2 separate regions of the Homo sapiens genome follow, and region 2 is linked to region 1. The links are contacts of gene promoters, found by promoter capture Hi-C in blood cells and fetal thymus (Javierre and others, 2016). All regions are on one chromosome and are shown on one strand. The core of a region is centred on a gene start or on the middle of the fragment in contact, and the rest is flanking DNA. Distances in the headings are between cores, read along the strand shown.

Region 1 (4,738 bases), core at 1,263-3,762:
AATCATGGTTTTCTAGTATATACCTCTGGATGCAATCAAAGCAGAACACGTGTGTACAAGAGAGAGAAATGGAACAGGAGAAAAAATCCAGGCAAACTGGACAGGACAACTCTGCTTGCAGGCGTTTGGCCATGGTTCTTAAGGGTTACTCCTTAGCCGTGAAGTAAACTGAAGTGATCCTTTATTGGCTTCTGGAAGCACTTGGGAGCCCTCAGTACACAATCCACTCTTCAATAGTCTAAATCCAAGATTAAATAATATAAATTAATAAATAAGTTATTGGCATACATAAATGAATTATATTATTTAATAAATAATAATAAATTTATTAACTAAGAAATTAAGAATAACAAAAAAATAATATTTCTGCAGTTTGTGTATGAAAGTGACACTAAATTGCTAGAGAATCACAGTAATGTAGTCATGGTGATAAAAATGATTTCGAAACTCTTCAAACTCTAGATAATCACAAGACAGAAATAGGACAGTGGAAACTTTCTTTTCAGACAGTGCAGCTTACCTAGTCTGAAGACTTCCAGGTGATGTGTTGGCTGCTCCGGCCAAAGTTTCTCCTAATGGGGGCTGAATTCAAGTGGGTCTTTAACAGAATCTCAGTATAGTCTCCACTCAGTATTTCTTTGTAGATCCTCTGCAGTTCAGGAAAAAGAATGTTCATGTCTAAATTCAATAATGAAAATAAAGCCAATTCTACATTAATCATCACAGAAAAGTGACTCTAAGGAATCCTCAGAATTTCCAGGAAAATTACCACATGTGAGTAAAGCCAGCAAAATCCACTGCAAAATGAGAAGCCCATAAAAGAATCAAGTTTAAGGACAAAGTGTTATTAGATGAAATGCTTTAAAGCACTCTAAGAAAACTAATTAAGGCTTGAATTAATGTGAATAAAAATATAATAGTCATCAACTTCTCCAAAATAATCATGCCTGAATACAAACCAAAAAGATGTTCCAGACAAGGAAGATGCCCTCCTGTTACCCCAACTGCTCCCAAAGCTTGAGAGCCTCTGGTGCTCCCAGAGGACTTCCCACCATGGCTATTATTCTTTGAGTGAGCTGTCTCTGACATGCTGGGCACAGCATATTGGACCAGGCTAGACCCATGACCCAAAGACAGCCTCGCAAAGCTGGACAGCACCTTTGAGATTATGTGAACAGAGGACTGTTCTCCAATAAGAGCCTGCACTGAGCAGTAACTAGCAGAACTCCTTACCAAGAACCCACAAATCACACATTCAGTGGTGACAGTAGTAACAGAATGAGGGACAGAAAGAGGAGCAGCATCAACATTACCAGAGAGAGGAAGTGATGAACACCGATGAGGCCAGCCTAAGACTGAGTTACTAGAACTGTCCTACATCCCAGAACACATTCTCTAATCTCTTTCCAACAAATACTTATTGAGCCCCTTCTGTGCTCTTGGCCTCAACTGGACTCTGGAAACACAAACGTGTGTAATAAACAGGGTATCTGCCCACATAAAACTTTGTCTTCCAAGTCCTGATCAGCATTCCAATCTCATGGTGCCTGGCTGGCGGACAACCAGAGATTACCTCTTTCTTAAATTCTGTTATCTTTTTCAATTTAATGGGAAATTTAACATGGTGCTGGAAATCTAATTGCCTAACCCACCTTGGAATGTATCTAAGAAAACAATTTTACAAAAGAAAAAAAATGCTACACTTATTCACAAGTTGTTCATTTCAGTGTTAACTACCATCCCAAATGATCAGGAACAATCGAATTATCTAACAATAATAAAATGATTCAGCTAATTATGACACAACTACTAAAAGTGGCCAAGTATATTTAAGTGAAAACCCGAAGTGAAGTCTTTTTTTTTTTTTGAGACGGAGTCTTGCTCTGTCGCCCAGGCTGGGGGTGCAGTGGCTCCATCTCGGCTCACTGCAACCTCTGCCTCCCGGGTTCAAGCAATTCTCCTGCCTCGGTCTCCTGAGTAGCTGGGATTACAAGCATGTGCCACCACGTCCGGCTAAGTTTTGTATTTTTAGTAGAGACGGGGTTTCACCATGTTGGACAGGCTGGTCTCTTGACCTCGTGATCCACCCACCTCAGCCTCCCAAAGCGCAGGCGCGAACCATGGCGCCCGGCCGAAAACCCAGAAATCTTTTAAGAAATGTTGGAAAATAAAAAGAAACCATTTTAAAACCATTTAAATCCATTGTAGTTGAAAACACATAAAAATACAAGTTCATGCAAAGAGTGACCTGAGGTTCATATGTAAAAATTTAAATGGCAAAGTTATAGTTAAAGGTGAAGAAAGCTCCCTGGCACAGGAAAAAACTAGTTCTTTCTCCTCTAAAATAAATAGTTAAAGGCATTCGAAAACACCAGTTTGTAGCCAAAGACAGAATAGGACATTGGAAATAGCTTAAACAGAAGGTATAACTTACCTTGACTTGGAGACTTCCAGCAGAATTCTAAAAGATCCGAAGCCTACGTCTCTACCTCTACAGACCTCTGCTCCTCTCGGAGTTTCCGCGGAGAGACACCAGCGTTTTTATACTGCCTGGAAAACATTGTCCAACCAATCAGAGTCAGAGGCTCCGCCCCAAAGGTTGTACCACTCTAATCTGAGTAAACTCATCAACCCACCCTTCCGTTTATGATGATGACATTAAAGCAGGCTTCAAATTATATAGTAAAAAAATTCAAAATTTCTTAATAACTCCCTGAATTAGAGTGAATCTACTGCCATCTGCTCTTGTCTCTAATTTCAGAACTCAACTTTAAAAAGCAAAATGTGTTGGAGATCAAATACAGAAATGCACTGCTGAAACCTAATCACCTCGTGGCTAATGTAATCATTGGTGTTCCTATTCCTGATAGAATCATGAGCGGACAGGATCTACAACAGTTTTCATGTCCTTTGACTCAACAATTCTACTCTTAGGGGTACTTACTGGACAGGATAAGAAAGATGGCAGCTAGGCAAGGCTATTGTCCTGTAATTATTAATAATTCCATTTTTTACTCTCAAAAGTGTTCTTGGATGAACGGTAAATTTTATGGTGTCTGTATCGAGAGCAGAAGGAGCAGTAAAAGTCACAACAGAGGAAAGCTAAGACACAAACTTCCAAAAAAGGATTTGGAGGGTGAATGAAGTCCCATTGTAGAGAGGATCGCTGGAATATACGTTTTCCCCAAGAGAGGCTGCATTCTAAATAACCTCTCCTTTCTCAGGCTTCCTGTTCTGCAAGGCCCAACACACAGCTTACACAGCTTTTACTTCATTTTTACCTGGTGCTATCTCCTTTTCTGTGAGTTAAATACTTGCAGGAGCAGGTCTCAAGCGTTGCTGGGGTTTTTTTTTGTTTTGATTTTTGACACAATCTTGCTCTGTCTCCCAGGTTGGAGTGCAGTGGCTCAGTCTCGGCTCATTGCAACCTCCACCTCCCAGGTTCAAGTGATTCTTGTGCCTCAGCCTCCCTAGTAGCTGGGATTACAGGAGGCCAAGGTGGGCAGATCACATAAGTTTAGGAGCTCAAACTTTTTAAATTGTAATCTCAAGACCCTTTAAACTTGAGATTTTAATCTCAAGAATCCTTACACTCTCTTTTTTAATTATTCAAAAATGTCATTTTATTTTTTCTTTCATTTTATTTTGAAATAATTTTAGACACAGAAAATTTGTAGGAATAGTAAAAAGAGATATATTCTTTACCCAGATTTACTATTTGTTTTTTAATTGTCTGATGTATGTATACACTGTGAACTGATTAAATCAAGCCAATTAACATATCTGTCACTTCACATACTTATCATTTTGTCATGAAAATGTTCAAAATCTACTATCTTAGCAATTTTTAGGTGTGCTATACATTATCATTAGTTATATCCACCATGATGTACAATGGATCTCCAAAGAGTATTCCTTCTATCTACCTGAAAATTTTGTACCTTTTAACCAATATCTCCCCATTTCAGTCTTCTTTTCATCCCAGTGCCTGGTAGCCACCATTCTACTCCATGCTTCCATGAGTTCATTTTTTTTTACTTTTTTCCATTCCACGTATAGGTGAAATCATGCAGCATTTGCCTTTCGGTACCAGCTTATTTCACTCAACATAATGTCCTCCAGGTTCCATGTTGTTGAAAATGATAGAATTTCTTAAGACTCGATAGTATTCCATCATGTACATGTACCATGTTTTCTTTATGTATTCATCTATTGAGGAATATCCTGATTCTTTATGCATTCATCAGTTGATGAATATAAGTTGATTCTCTATCTTGGCTACTGTGAATAATGCTGTTATGAACATAGGAGAGCAGATATCTCTTCAATGTACTGATTTTATTTTCTTTGGATATATATTCAGAAGTAGAATTGCTAGATCACATAGTAGCTCTATTTTTAGTTCTTTGAAGAACCCCCATACTAGTTTTCATAATAGCTGTGCTAATTTACATTCCCACCAATGGTGTACGAGGTTTCTCTTTTCTTCATATCTTTGCCAGCATTTGTTATCTCTTCTCTTTTTTATTTATTTACTTTTTTCTCATGCCTGTAATCCCAGCACTTTGGGAGGCCAAGGCGGGTGAATCGCGAGGTTAGGAGTTCAAGACAAGCCTGGCCAAGATGCTAAAACCCCGTTTCTACTAAAAATAAAAAAATTAGCAAGGCGTGGTGGCGGGCACCTGTAATTCCAGCTACTTGTGAGGCTGAGGCATAGAATTGCTTGAACCTAGGAGGC
Region 2 (4,738 bases), core at 1,366-3,865, 93 kb after region 1:
CTCCAAACGCAGCCCAGTAGGTCTCAGTCCTATTTTACCCAGCCCCTATTCAAGATGGAATTGCTCTAGTTGAAATGCCTATGACAAAAAGGCATCATTATGCCCATTTTACAGGGAAGGAAACTTTCAGAGGGACTAAGTTACATGCCAAGCTCCCAAAAGTACTACATGCAGACCCAGGATTTGAACCCTGTTTTATTTTATACAAAACCCATCCCCCTGCATATTATGCCATTTTGTCTCAAAAACAATAATAGTACCCACAGAAAGAAGATGAAGAGGAAGAGCTGGGAGCACATATTTAACCAAAAATAAGAAGTCCATAGGTCTTGGACGAATACACTCCTACCAGCACTGGGCAGGCAGACAGAAGAGGGCCCAGATTAAATTAAAAAGTGTGTGATTAATTGGCAGCTAGTAAAGAACAAGATGAAATCCTTCAGAAAACAAATATATGAGTTTTGGTGAGCTGAAGAGATCTGTATCTGAAGTCAGAATATTTAATATACATCATATATAATTAATATTATTATTATTTAATGTTCTTTTAAAGGGTGACTGGGTCAGTATAACTGAGCATAATCTGTTTTGTCTCAGAGTCTGGCTATCTTTTTTCCCAATATCAGTCTCTCAACTAAACCAAACATGTTTTTAACTTCTCCCACTTAATTTAGTAGGTTAACAAGTCTATGTAAAAGAAGAGTATCATAATTTAGCTTAATAGTCCCTTGCAATACTATTTTAATATTTTAAAATCAAAATATCACTTTAAAACCTATAGGAATTATTTTTGCTTCCTTTGGCTTTGGTTCTTTTGTATCATACAATTTTATCATTTAAAATCAAAGATCTTACCATCAGATTTACCTGGGCTATAGTAGTAATTTTACCACTTACCCATGGCCAAATGTGTATGACAATCCCTACTTCATGAGATTATCATAAAGATGAAATTAAATGAGACAATTTTTTTTTTTTTTTTTTTTTTTTTTTTTGAGCTGGAGTCTTTCTCTGTCACCCAGGCTGGAGTCAGTGGTAAAATCTCTGCTCACTGCAACCTCCACCTCCCGGGTTCAAGCAATTCTCCTGCCTCAGCCTCCCGAGTAGCTGGGACTACAGGCGCCTCCCACCATGCCTGGCTAAATTTTGTATTTTTAGTAGAGACGGGGTTTCACCATGTTGGCCAGGCTGGTATCGAACTCCTGACCTCATGATCCACCCACCTTGGCCTCCCAAAGTGCTGGGATTACAGGCATGAGCCACCACGCCCAGCCCTAAATGAGACAATTTATGTGATTTTTTTGCACATGGGAGGCACTCAAAAAATAAAAGTGTCCATTTCCTTCACCTCTGAATTCATACTCTTTATTTTAAAGTTGCAGTGTCGTGTATACAGATGTAAAAGAGAGCTTTGGAATCAGTGAGGCCTGGATCCAAACCCCATCTCTGCTTTCCACCAGCTGTGCGACCTTGGGCAAATGTCCTAGTCTCTCTGAACCTCACTTTCTTCTTCTGTAAAAGGAAAATAATGGTACTACTTTGCAGGAATGCTGAGGTTTACAAATAGCATATGCCAAGTATCTGGCACATGTTAGGTGCAAAATAAATGGTTTTGCTTACACTTAGATAAAATGACTTTTGTTCTATGAAATGGAGCTAATGATTAGGTTTTATGGAAAGGCTTTATTTATTTATTTTATGATTAGGTTATACAAAAATGCTTTATTTCACCTGGAAGCTTACCTGGGTGTCATTTTATGGTTGTCTCATCTGACCATTTTTAAACCATGGTTGGATCTTGTGGAAATGTTTAGAGCTCGTTATGAAGCCAATGTAAACAAAGGTACCTATCAGCTGTTGCAGACACTATCCCATCCACAGGGGCACCCCTGACATAGCTGTAGCCCAACTTCACCCTGAAGTCTTGGAAAGGTTACATGATTCAGACAGATGTAGTAGGCATGAGATTACAGGCCAAGAGGAAGAGGCCGGGGCTGTAGGCAGTATACTTGACAGGCTCATACACTGCAAGCCTTGTTCCGGGCCCCTTACAAAGCACCTCTTTAGGATGAAAACAAGATGGTCTTTGTAAATAAAAGTTCATGCATTTGGGTAATGAAGTCATTTTCCAGCGCTGCAGTGAAAGATATTCTTCTCCCAAGCCCTCTGGGTGAGGACTGGAGGGAGGAAGAGGGGTGGCCAGTGAATCTGAAGAGAAGATATTAGCACAAAGAGTGCAACAGTCTATCCCCCAGAAAAAACCCGAGAAACCTTGCTCAAGAAAGTGGGCACCCTGACCCTCTGCCTTCAGAGATCATCTACCTTTGGTTCCTGCCCTGGAATCCCTTTTCCACCCACTTTCCTGCAAACTAGCGGGGGCCACATAAAATATCTATGTAAATATAGATAAGACATCCGGTACCTTGACTACATAAATAAGAGTGGTGAGGAAGCGTCACAAAAGCTGAATATTCTTCTGGAGCCCTTGGAGGGGCTCCAAACTGAGAGGGGAGGGAAGACCGCAGGGAAAGGCGGACCTCAGTGTCTGAAAAGCCAGCTTAGAGTGGGAGGGCCTGGGAGTAGAAGGTAAAAAGGGAGTGGTGAGAATGAATGTGAGAAGGAAGCCAGGACAGCGCAGTCCCCAGTCCCGAACGGCCAGGGAGAGGAGGTGGCCTAGCGCTGGCGGGGCTCACCCCAATCCGTCTGCCTTTTGATGCCGTACTGTAAGCTCCGTCCATCTGTAGGTTCTTGAGCCAGAACCTCTGCGGGAAGGAGAAAAAGTGAAAGAGGGAGAGGGAGAGGGAGAGAGAGGGGGAGAAGGGGAGAGAGAGAGAGGGAGAGAGAGGCTGGAACTCTCCCTTACTCTCGCACTTTCCCTTTATTTCCTAAGCTGCTGGTTGCGCAGCCACCTCGGGATACTGCACACGGAGAGGAGGGAAAATAAGCGAGGCACCGCCGCACCACGCGGGAGACCTACGGAGACCCACAGCGCCCGAGCCCTGGAAGAGCACTACTGGATGTCAGCGGAGAAATGGCTTTGAGCTCAGCCTGGCGCTCGGTTCTGCCTCTGTGGCTCCTCTGGAGCGCTGCCTGCTCCCGCGCCGCGTCCGGGGACGACAACGCTTTTCCTTTTGACATTGAAGGGAGCTCAGCGGTTGGCAGGCAAGACCCGCCTGAGACGAGCGAACCCCGCGTGGCTCTGGGACGCCTGCCGCCTGCGGCCGAGGTACAGTGTCCCTGCCATTGCCACCCTGCTGGGGCACCTGCGCCCCCGCGGGCTGTGCCACACTCGTCCTTCTCTCTCTCTCCGCCTCTTTCCTCTCCCCAGTGCCTTGAGAGTTTCACCTGGGCTAGGTCAGTTCGGAAACTTGAAATAAAGAGTTTTCCTTTGTAAGTTGCATTTGGATGTTGAGAGTTGAAAGTTGAGGCTTCGGAATGTGTCTGCTCAAAGGGGTGAGAGTGCATGTGTTGGTGCTCTGAGTTCATCCGCTAGACTCTCACCGGGGACTGCAGCAGCACATCGGTGACTTCTGCCACTTGCGTGTCCCAGTAGTCATTTTGTCAAGCCACGGCACTTAACGTGTGTGCCCTGTCACTGGCTTCCTGCTCCTCTGTGCTGTTAGGACAGTGGGAACACTACTGCAGGATCTTTTTGTCTCATATTAGACAAGAAGTCTTCTGCAGCAGGGAAGGTGAGGGGGTGAGTGAGAGTGGCTGGTCATGAAAGGAGCTGTTAGACAACTGCTGAGAGGGTATCTTAAGTAGAAACGAGCCATTGTATTCCAGAAACAAGATGTTTCCATTAAAATCAAGCCTCAGGATATGCTATTGATAATATGTTTATTCAAAGAGCTGCTGTTTGAATACCTTACAATAGCTTTTAAGTTGGAAACAAAACCAGAATGTAGAGGTCTGGTAAAGGAGAATGAATCCAGAACAAGTGATTTAAGAACCCCTGAACTGAAACAGACAACAGCATGCCCATTGCATGGGACATGCTAAGAGGGAGGAAAATAAAGTCACCTAAGTTCATGGGAAAGGAAGGAGCAATTGACCTAGCAAAACAAACACCACACTCTATAGCTATGGTTACAGCAACTGTACAACTAAAACAGTTATGTGGATTGACACCATTTCTAACATCACTGATGCATGGATTATTGCTATGAATTCTGTTAATTGTTAGTACAATTATAGTTATTAATTATTGATGATTAAAAATAAGGTGCATGAACATGGTCCTTCTTCAGAGTAAGCCCTACCCACATTGCCCCAAAAAAGAGAGTGGACAGGGTCAGAATATGCCAACCTCTCACTGTGGTATAAAATGTAGCCTCCATGAAAAAGAGGGAGCATGGCTTCTGGTCAACTTCATACCCAGAAACTTGGGGAGAAGCCAGACCAGGAGGGACTTCATGCAATGGGAAGGCTTTGCTTCTCTACAGGCTTGGAATTAACCCCAGGGAAGCATTATCTCCACCTGTTGCTTTGAGCACGTAAAGTCCCTGAATGAAATGCTTAATTTTACTTAAGAGTAAAATTGGCAGATAAATTGCAGGACACTCAAATGTGAATTTCAGATAAATAATGAATGAATTTTGATCACATCCCAAATACTGCAGAGGACATATTTATATTAAAATTTGTTTTCATTGTTCATCTGAAATTCAAATTTATCCGGGCATCCTGTATTTGTATCTGTTAGGTCTAAAGAGACAAGCCATATACAACTGTTTTT

What was found. Contacts are between HindIII fragments. The CHiCAGO score rates a contact against its expected background, and 5 or more counts as called.
Region 2: the fragment with the promoter of LAMA4 here is called in contact with the fragment with the promoter of RFPL4B in region 1 in 1 of 17 cell types (monocytes); the score reaches 6.8 in monocytes.

Annotation. Positions count from the first base shown.
Region 1 is chr6:112,345,104-112,349,841 of GRCh38, reverse strand. RFPL4B (ret finger protein like 4B) reads right to left here and starts at 2,512. Exons shown (of 3, transcript NM_001013734.3): 1 at 2,435-2,512; 2 at 521-649; 3 at 1-238. The coding sequence starts at 133. The HindIII fragment of the contact is 3,879 bases long and covers 1,019-4,738 here.
Region 2 is chr6:112,252,444-112,257,181 of GRCh38, reverse strand. It overlaps LAMA4 (laminin subunit alpha 4), which reads left to right and starts at 2,615. Exons shown (of 39, transcript NM_001105206.3): 1 at 2,615-2,723; 2 at 2,891-3,226. The coding sequence starts at 3,032. All of the region lies in intron 2 of LAMA4-AS1 (LAMA4 antisense RNA 1), which reads right to left. The HindIII fragment of the contact is 4,256 bases long and covers 1,741-4,738 here.